Regions from separate parts of the Homo sapiens genome. Here region 2 is linked to region 1. The links are contacts of gene promoters, found by promoter capture Hi-C in blood cells and fetal thymus (Javierre and others, 2016). All regions are on one chromosome and are shown on one strand. Each heading gives the region's core, a stretch centred on a gene start or on the middle of the fragment in contact. The rest is flanking DNA. Distances are from core to core; before and after follow the strand shown.

The links. Contacts are between HindIII fragments. The CHiCAGO score rates a contact against its expected background, and 5 or more counts as called.
Region 2: a fragment that was not itself captured here is called in contact with the fragment with the promoter of CD40 in region 1 in 1 of 17 cell types (endothelial precursors); the score reaches 5.2 in endothelial precursors.

The regions. Positions count from the first base shown.
Region 1 is chr20:46,115,855-46,120,005 of GRCh38, forward strand. It overlaps CD40 (CD40 molecule), which reads left to right and starts at 2,460. Exons shown (of 9, transcript NM_001250.6): 1 at 2,460-2,540. The coding sequence starts at 2,490. RefSeq lists a cis regulatory region at 1,642-3,739, enhancers at 1,681-2,497, 2,263-2,322, 3,333-3,682 and a silencer at 2,239-2,458. The HindIII fragment of the contact is 10,977 bases long and covers 1-4,151 here.
Region 2 is chr20:46,427,362-46,431,512 of GRCh38, forward strand. The region is part of intron 2 of LOC105372633 (a long non-coding RNA gene); the gene reads left to right. Among named protein-coding and RNA genes, the nearest start is that of ELMO2, 23 kb to the left of the region's middle. The HindIII fragment of the contact is 956 bases long and covers 1,747-2,702 here.

The DNA of each region.
Region 1 (4,151 bases), core at 1,210-3,709:
AAAGATTGTGTGCCTGGGAAGTGGGGAGAGGCTGAAGCCAGTGTGCATGGGAGGACGTGGCAGGAAGTAAGCATAGAAAGAGAGGTTGGGGCTGAGTGAGGAAGGGTGTGCTTTGCCAGGATAAGAAATTTGGATCATCCTGAGGGTGCAGGGAAACCCAAAGAGGCTTTTATGCAGGAAAGTGTCCCAGTCGATCAGATCTGGAGTTTATCAAGAGAATCGCAGCAGTGTAAAGAGTTGCCTGGCACATAGTAGGTGCTCAATAAATCCTGTGGAATGAGAGAGGCTGTTGGGACAGTCCAGATGAAAGATGGCACCCTCTGAATTAGGGCAGTGGCAGAGGTGACAGAAAATAAGGGATGGATCCTAGAGGCAGAATCCACAAGACTTGCAAATGTGCCCTTAACAGCAGAAGCCATGAGAATGGGGTTAGAAGTGTCCTCCTCTTCCATCCTCCCTGATCTGTGAGGTCTGGCCTCTTGTCCTCTTCCAGAAATTGAGAGCTTGGAGGGTCATCACCTCAACCGTTGTCTAGTTCAAGCTCCTAAGTTTTCCTTGGAGAAAAATTTAGGCCTAAGGGAACACAGTCCTTCAGAGGCAGAGGCTGCACCAGAACCCAGGTGTTCCATGCTGCAAAGCAGAGTGTTAACACTGGTTCAAGAACATCTTGAGGGCCAGGTGCGGTGGCTCATGCCTGTAATCTCAGCACTTTGGGAGGCCAAGGCAGGCGGATCACCTGAGGTCAGGAGTTTGAGACCAGCCTGGCCAACGTGGAGAAACCCCGTCTCTACTAAAAATACAAAAATTAGCTGGGCGTGGTGGCGCCAGCCTGTAATCCCAGCTACTCGGGAGGCTGAGGCAGGAGAATTGCTTGAACCCAGGAGGCAGAGGTTGCAGTGAGCCGAGATCATGCCACTGCACTCCAGCCTGGGCAACAGAATGAGACTCTGTCAAAAAAAACCCAAAAACCAAAAACCAAACAAACACCCAAAAAACAAAACGAAACAAAAAACAAAAAAACAAAAGCACGTCTTCAGAGTTCATGAACCCAGGAAATGTAGGCACAAGTGTGTGTGTTTCTGCAAAATGAGAGGGTCCCGAGTTTCCTAACATACTTAAAGTGTTTTATGATGCCACAAAAGGCTGGCCCACTCTTTTTTTTTTTTTGAGATGGAGTTTTGCACTGTCGCCCAGGCTGAAGTGCAGTGATGTAATCATTGCAATCATGGCTCACTGCAACCTTGACTTCTTGAGCTCAAGCGATCCTCCTGCCTCAGCCTCCTGAGTAGCTGGGACTACAGGTGTTTGCCACCATGCCTGGCTAACTTAAAAATTTCTTTATTTTGTAGAGATGGGGGTCTTGCCATGTTGCCAGGCTGGTCTTGAACTCCTGGCCTCAAGCAATCTCCCTTTTTGGCCTTCCAAAGTGTTAGATTACAGGCGTAAGCCACCGCGCCTGGCCCCCACCTTTATTTTTATTTTTATTTATTATTTATTTTTTTTTTTTTTGAGACTGAGTCTTGCTCTGCCTTCGAGGCTGGAGTGCAGTGGCACGATCTCGGCTCATTGCAATCTCTGCCTCTGCGGTTCAAGCGATTCTCCTGCCTCAGCCTCCCGAGTAGCTGGGATTACAGGCGAACGCCACTACATCCGGTTAATTTTTGTATTTTTAGTAGAGACGGAGTTTCACTATGTTGGCCAGGTTGGTCTCGAACTCCTGACCTCAAGTGATCTGCCCGCCTCGGCCTCCTAAAGTGCTGGATTACAGGCGTGAGCCACCGCGCCCGGCCCCACTCTTAATAAATGCCTGTCTCCAGGTGCTGGGTGGGAGGTGGGATGGAATGGAATGAGGTGAGGACGCATGGATGCATGGATGAATGGATGGGAAGTTGAGACGACGCGCCCACACGAGGGAATTTCCTTTGAAAGAGAGCGAAATTCTGAGTTGGGAAACTCTTCCTTGAAACGCCTCCCCATACCCCAGCTGTGGCCTTCCCGTTTTCTGCGTGGTGGTGTGGGGGGAACTTCCTCAGGCCTCTCCGCAGTGGAGCCTCTTTCGGTTCTGCCAGGATACCTAGAGGCAGCGGAGAGCGGGGCAGGGAGGGGAAAACCGTGAGGGTCCCTGTGGCAGGCCCCAGCACCCATGGGATCTCTCTCCGGTCGCAGGAAGCAGGCTAGCTCCTAGCCCGCCTCGGCTTGGCCTTTGTGGGACCTGGGGGCAAAGAAGAAGAGCTGTCTCTGGGACCATGCCTCCTCCCGTACACAGCAAGATGCGTCCCTAAACTCCCGGGGGAATTAGACTTGTGGGAATGTTCTGGGGAAACTCCTGCGCGGTGAATTGCTGGGGGCTCCGCCCCCCCGATAGGTGGACCGCGATTGGTCTTTGAAGACCCCGCCCCTTTCCTGGGCGGGGCCAAGGCTGGGGCAGGGGAGTCAGCAGAGGCCTCGCTCGGGCGCCCAGTGGTCCTGCCGCCTGGTCTCACCTCGCTATGGTTCGTCTGCCTCTGCAGTGCGTCCTCTGGGGCTGCTTGCTGACCGCTGTGAGTTGTTTTTGCCCCGACCAGACGGGAGTTGGGAGTGGGGAATGAGAAGGAAAGGGAAGGAAGACTTCGGGGAAGAGGCCTTCCTGGCTGATTTTTGTGGGGGCAGGAGGGTGGGTGGGAGCTGGGCAAGGTGCCCCCGCTCCTGGCTGAATGGGGTGGGCTGCCTCTCTCTTCTCCCGGGCTGGGGTCCCGGGAGCGGCCTACAGGGGCCGCTCAGGGAAGGCACTGGCTGCCCAAGCGTGCCTAGACGGCCTGGACGGGTTTAGGGAGCCTCAGAGGCTGGCCACACAGAGACTGGTAGGGGGTTCAGAGGGCGGGAAGTGAGGCGGACCAAGGGAAGGGGCGGGTCTGGCCCGTTTCCTGTCCCCTTCTTATTGTGGACAGATGCCAGCCTCTGTAAGTAGTTATCATCTCCTTGCCAGCTGGGGCTGCCTTCTTCCAGGGCATCTTGTGGGAACAAGAGATGGGTGCAGAGGCCCAGGTACTTTTGTGAGAAGGCAAGGAGCTTTTAACATCGCCTTCCACCCCGAACCGTATCTTGGGTGTTCCAACCTAGGAGGAATCCCCAGGGCTTTGCCTTTTTCTCCTGAATTTAAGATGACATAGGAGACCCCTGGGGAGATGAACAGTTTATGGGACACAATAAAGGGTTAGGAGACCAGAGTTCTGGTTGGCTCTGACAGGGCTGGTGATCAGAGGGCTGGAGAAACCAGGGGTTTCTCCAGGCACCAGAGGGGCTCAGAGCCAACCAAGCATATCTCCGGGATTTTCAGAAGCCTACACTTGACTCACTTTTTGTTTAAATGTATTTTTGTAGTTCCTCATTCTGGAGGCTGGGAATCCCCCAAGTACCTGGCTCCTTCATCCCAGCCCCTCTGGCCTCCCCCTACTTTAGAGGGCTGTAGATTCCTGCCTGAAGCCTGGGCAGGAATGACCCATGGTATCAAGGAAAGCAAGGGAAGCAGCAAGGGAAGAGAGGGAGTGGGGAGGCTGCTTTGGTCCCACAGCTTTCACTTTCACCTGAAGCAATGGCTCTTAGGGAACAGGGAGGCAGGGGGAGGGCGGAGCTGGAAAGAGGTAAAGGGGGGCCCTTGTGGTAGGAGTGGAGAAAGAGCCAGAGGAGGTGGGGTGAAGGGTGTGATCCAGGCTTCTCAAGAGCAGAGTTTGCCCTCATAACTCCCAACTTTGGCTCCAGGTAGAGGCTGGGCTGTGACAACAATGTCAGAAGCTATCTATTGAGGGCTTCTTGTGTGTCAGGCTCTGAGCCAAACACTGCCTGTTTTCTTTGTCTGATTTCTCACAACTCCCCCATTATACAGATGGGCAAATTGAGGCTCAGAAAGGGGGATTGTCTTGCCAAAGGTCTCATAGCTAGCTAATGGAAGAACCTGGTTGTGAATCTACATCTGCATGATTCCCGAGCCTGCCTCTCAGATAGTGAGAGTCTCCAAGCTCTGGTCCTGAGCTGTTTTGTGGCAGAAGGACCAGAACTATGGGGAGTGAGAACTGGAGATTGACAGACTTTTAGGGGAGCGTTTTATTTCTCATGTGTTTGAAGATGGTATCAAGGACTTTCCTATCTTTGGGAGTGTGGGAGCTCCACGTTCA
Region 2 (4,151 bases), core at 975-3,474, 310 kb after region 1:
TAACTAAAGCAAAAATGGACAAATGGGTCACATTAAGTTAAAAAGCTTCTGCCCAGTGAAAGAAACAACAACATGAAAAGACAACCCACAGAATGGATGAAAATACTTGCAAACTATCCACATGACAAGGGATCAATAACCAAAATATATAAGGAGCTCAAATAACTCTATAGGAACAAAATCTAATAATCTAATTTAAAAATGGGCAAAAGATCTGATGAATAGACATTTTTCAAAAGAGGACATACAAATGAGAAGCAGGTGTATGAAAAGGTGCTCAACATCACTGATCATCAGATAAATGCAAGTCAAAACTATAATGAAGCATCATCTCACCCCAGTTAAAATGGTATTTATCCAAAAGACAGACAATAACAAGTGCTGGTGAGGATGTGGAAAAAGGAGAACCCTCATACACTGTTGGTGGGAACGTAAATTAGAACAATTCAGAGGTTCCTAAAAAAACTAAAAATAGAGCTACCATATGATCCAGCAATCCCACTGCCAGGTATATACACAAAAAAATGGAAATCAGTATATTGAAGACATATCTGCATTCCCATGTTTATTGAAGCACTATTCACAATAGCCAAGATTTAGAAACAACCTAGTGTCCATCAACGATGAATTGATAAAGAAAACGTGGTTGATTTATACAATGGAGTACTATTCAGTCATAAGAATGAACGAGATCCTGTCATTTGCAATGACGTAGATGGAACTGGCAGTCAGTGCATTAAGTGAAATAGGCCAGGAACAGAAAGACAAACTTGGCATCTTCTCACTTATTTGTGGGAGCTAAAAATTAAAAGAATTGAACTCATGGAGATAGAGAGTCAAAGGATGGTTACCAGAGGCTGGGAAGGGTAATTGGGAGAGGGGTAGGGGAGTGAGGATGGTTAATGGGTCCAAAAAAATAGAAAGAATGAGTAACACCTGATATTTGACAGCATAACAGGGTGATGACAGTCAATAATAATTTAATTGTACATTTAAAAGCAACAAAGAGTACAATTGGATTGTTTGTAACACAAAGGAAAAATGCTTGAGGTGATGGATACCTGGTTTATCCTGATGTGATTATTACACATTGTATGCTAGTATCAAAATATCTTATGCAGCCCATAAATATACATAACTACTATGTCTCCACAAAAATTAAAAGTTAAAATTAAAAAAAGAGAAATGATTAAGCTTAGTGAGGGAGGCATGTTGAAAGCCAAGAAAGGTCAAAAGCTAGGCATCTTGCACCAAACAGCCAAGTGGTGAATGCAAAGAAAAACTTCTTGAAGGAAATTAAAAGTGCTAATTCAGAACACATGAATGATAAGAAAACAAAAGAGCCTTATTGCTGATACAGAGAAAGTTTGAGTGGTCTGGATAGAAGATCAAACCAGCTGCAACATTCCCATAAACCGAAACCGAATCCAGAGCAAGCCCCTAACTCTCTTCAATTCTATGAAGACAGAGAGGTGAAGAAGCTGCAGAAGAAAAGTTTGAAGTTATCAGAGGTTGGTTTATGAGGGTTAAGGAAAGAAGCCATCTCTATAGCATAAAAATGCAAAGTGAAGCAGCAAGTGCTGATGGAGAAGCTGCAGCAAGTTCTCCAGAAGATCTAGCTAAGATCACTGATGAAGGTGGCTACACTAAAAAACAGATCTTCAATGTAGACAAAACAGCCTTCTATTGGGAGATGATGCCATTAAGGACTTTCGCAGATAGAGAGAAGTCAATGCTTGGCTTCAAAGCTTCAAATGATAGGCTGACTCTCTTGTTAGTAGCTAAGGTAGTTGGTGACTTTAAGTTGAAGCCAATGCATATTTCCCATTTCTCAAGTCTTAGAGCCCTTTAGAATTATGTTACATCTCTTTGGCCTGTGCTCCATAAATGTAACAACAAAGCCTGGATGACAGCACATCTGCTTATAGCAAGGTTTACTGATTATTTTAAGCCCACTGTTGAGAACTGTGCTCAGAATAAAAAAGATTCCTTTCAAAATATTACTGCTCATCGACAAAACACCAGGTCACTCAGAAACTCTGATGAAGATGTACAAGGAGACAAATGTTGTTCCTATCCCTGCTAACACAGTATCCATTCTGTAGCCCATGGATCAAAGAGTAACTTTGACTTTCAAGTCTTATTATTTAAGAAATACATTTTGTAAGGCTATAGCTGCCATAAATAGTAATTCCTCTGATAGGTCTGGGAAAAATACATTGAAAACCTCCTAGAAAGAACTTACTATTCTAGATTACATCAAGAATGCTTGTGATTCAGGAGAAGAGGTCAAAATATCAACATTAATAATAATTTAGAAGAAGTTGATTCCAACTTTTATGGATAACTTTGAGAGACTCAAGGCTTCGGTGGAGGAAGTAACTGCAGATGTGATAGAAATAGCAAGACAACTAGAATTAGAAGTGGAGCCTGAAGGTGTGCCTGAACTGCTGCAATCTCATGAGAAGACTTTAATGAGTGTGGAGTTACTTTTTATGAATGCTCAAAGAGAGCAATTTATTGAGATGGCAACTACTTCTGGGGAAGAGTCTATCAACATCGTTAAAATGACGACAAAGGATTTAGAATATTACATAAATTTAGTTGATAAAGCAACTGCAGGGTTTGAGAGGATTGACTCCAATTTTGAACGTTCTACTGTGGGATAAATGCTATCAAACAGCATCACATGCTACAAAGAAAGCTTTCATGAAAGGAAGAGTTGATTGATGCAGCCAACTTCATTGTTGTTTTATTTTAAGAAATTGCCACAGTCACCCCGAACTTCAGCAAACTACCACTCACATCAGTCAGTAGCCATCAACACTGAGGTAAGACCCTCCCACCAGCAAAAAGATTACGACTCACTGAAAGCTCAGATGATCATCAATATTTTTTAGCAATAAAGTATTTTAAAATTAAGGTATGTACATTTATAGACATAATGCTATTGCCCACTTAATTGATGACAGTATAGAGGAAACATAACTTTTATATGCACTGGGAAACCAAAAAATTCATATGACTCACTTAATTGCAATATTAGCTTTATTGTAGTGGTCTGATACTGAAGTTGCATTATCTCTGAGATATGCCTGTATATCTTCCTTTGAATGCTTCTTCGGTCATAGTTCACAGATTTTTTATTTTTTGTGCCCTCATTGTTATTCATTAGAAATAATTTATAATTTCTACTTTAATTTTTCTTTTGAACCCAATAGATAGTTAAAAGAGTAGGTTTTGAATATTCATGTCTATAGGGGTTTTGTTGGTAATGAGGTTTTTGTTTGTTTGGCTATTCTTTGGCGATTTCTAGTTTTATTGCATTGTGGTCTGTGAACACATTTCTGCCATTTAGAATATAGTGGAATTTCCTCTGAGAATTCTGCGGGGATGGTTGTTGAATACATCTGTGCTGCCTTCATCCTTCAATTTAAAACCAGCTACTGAACCTTTTGTGAGCCAAGCAGCTTCTGGGGTTTAGAGATCTAGTGCATCTCTGGGGTCCAGAAGAAGGGAGTTGGCAGAGCAAGTTTCTGCTTCTGAGCCCCACGACAGCCCGGGGACTGGAGGTGCAGAGCCCAGGAGTAATGGTCAGAAGAAAAGTGAAATCGGGAACACTTGACCTACGGAAATCCAAGGACCTCCCAAGGGAGAGGCTGCAGCTGCCCCCGTGAGCACTCTATGGTCTCATTGTTCCAGCTCATACAAAGCTGTGGGGGAGAACAAAAGTGCTAAATCCTCTCCTCAACTGGGAAAATGCCAGTCTTTGCAGCTGAAGAGACTAGCGGGCAGAGGGAGACCTTTTGGGACCAACCACTTGCCAGCGGACCCAGCAAGTCAAAGACTGTTGCAACATCCATTACTCGAGAGACTGGCCTTGCTCTAGATCCCCAGCAGCTGAACATGGGCCCCAGTGGGTCAGCAAAGGAAAATACCAACCCATCCTGGGGGACCCAGAAGTGAGAAAGTGAAAGAACCAGCATATTGCAGAGAACAACAGCTACAAACCTTCTGGGGGAGAGAGAGGACAGCCTGAACCAAAAACAATGATAACAACAACACGTAAGGAACCACAAATACAGTGTGCATAAACGCACGCATACACACACGCATGCACACACGCGCACACACATGCATGCACACATACA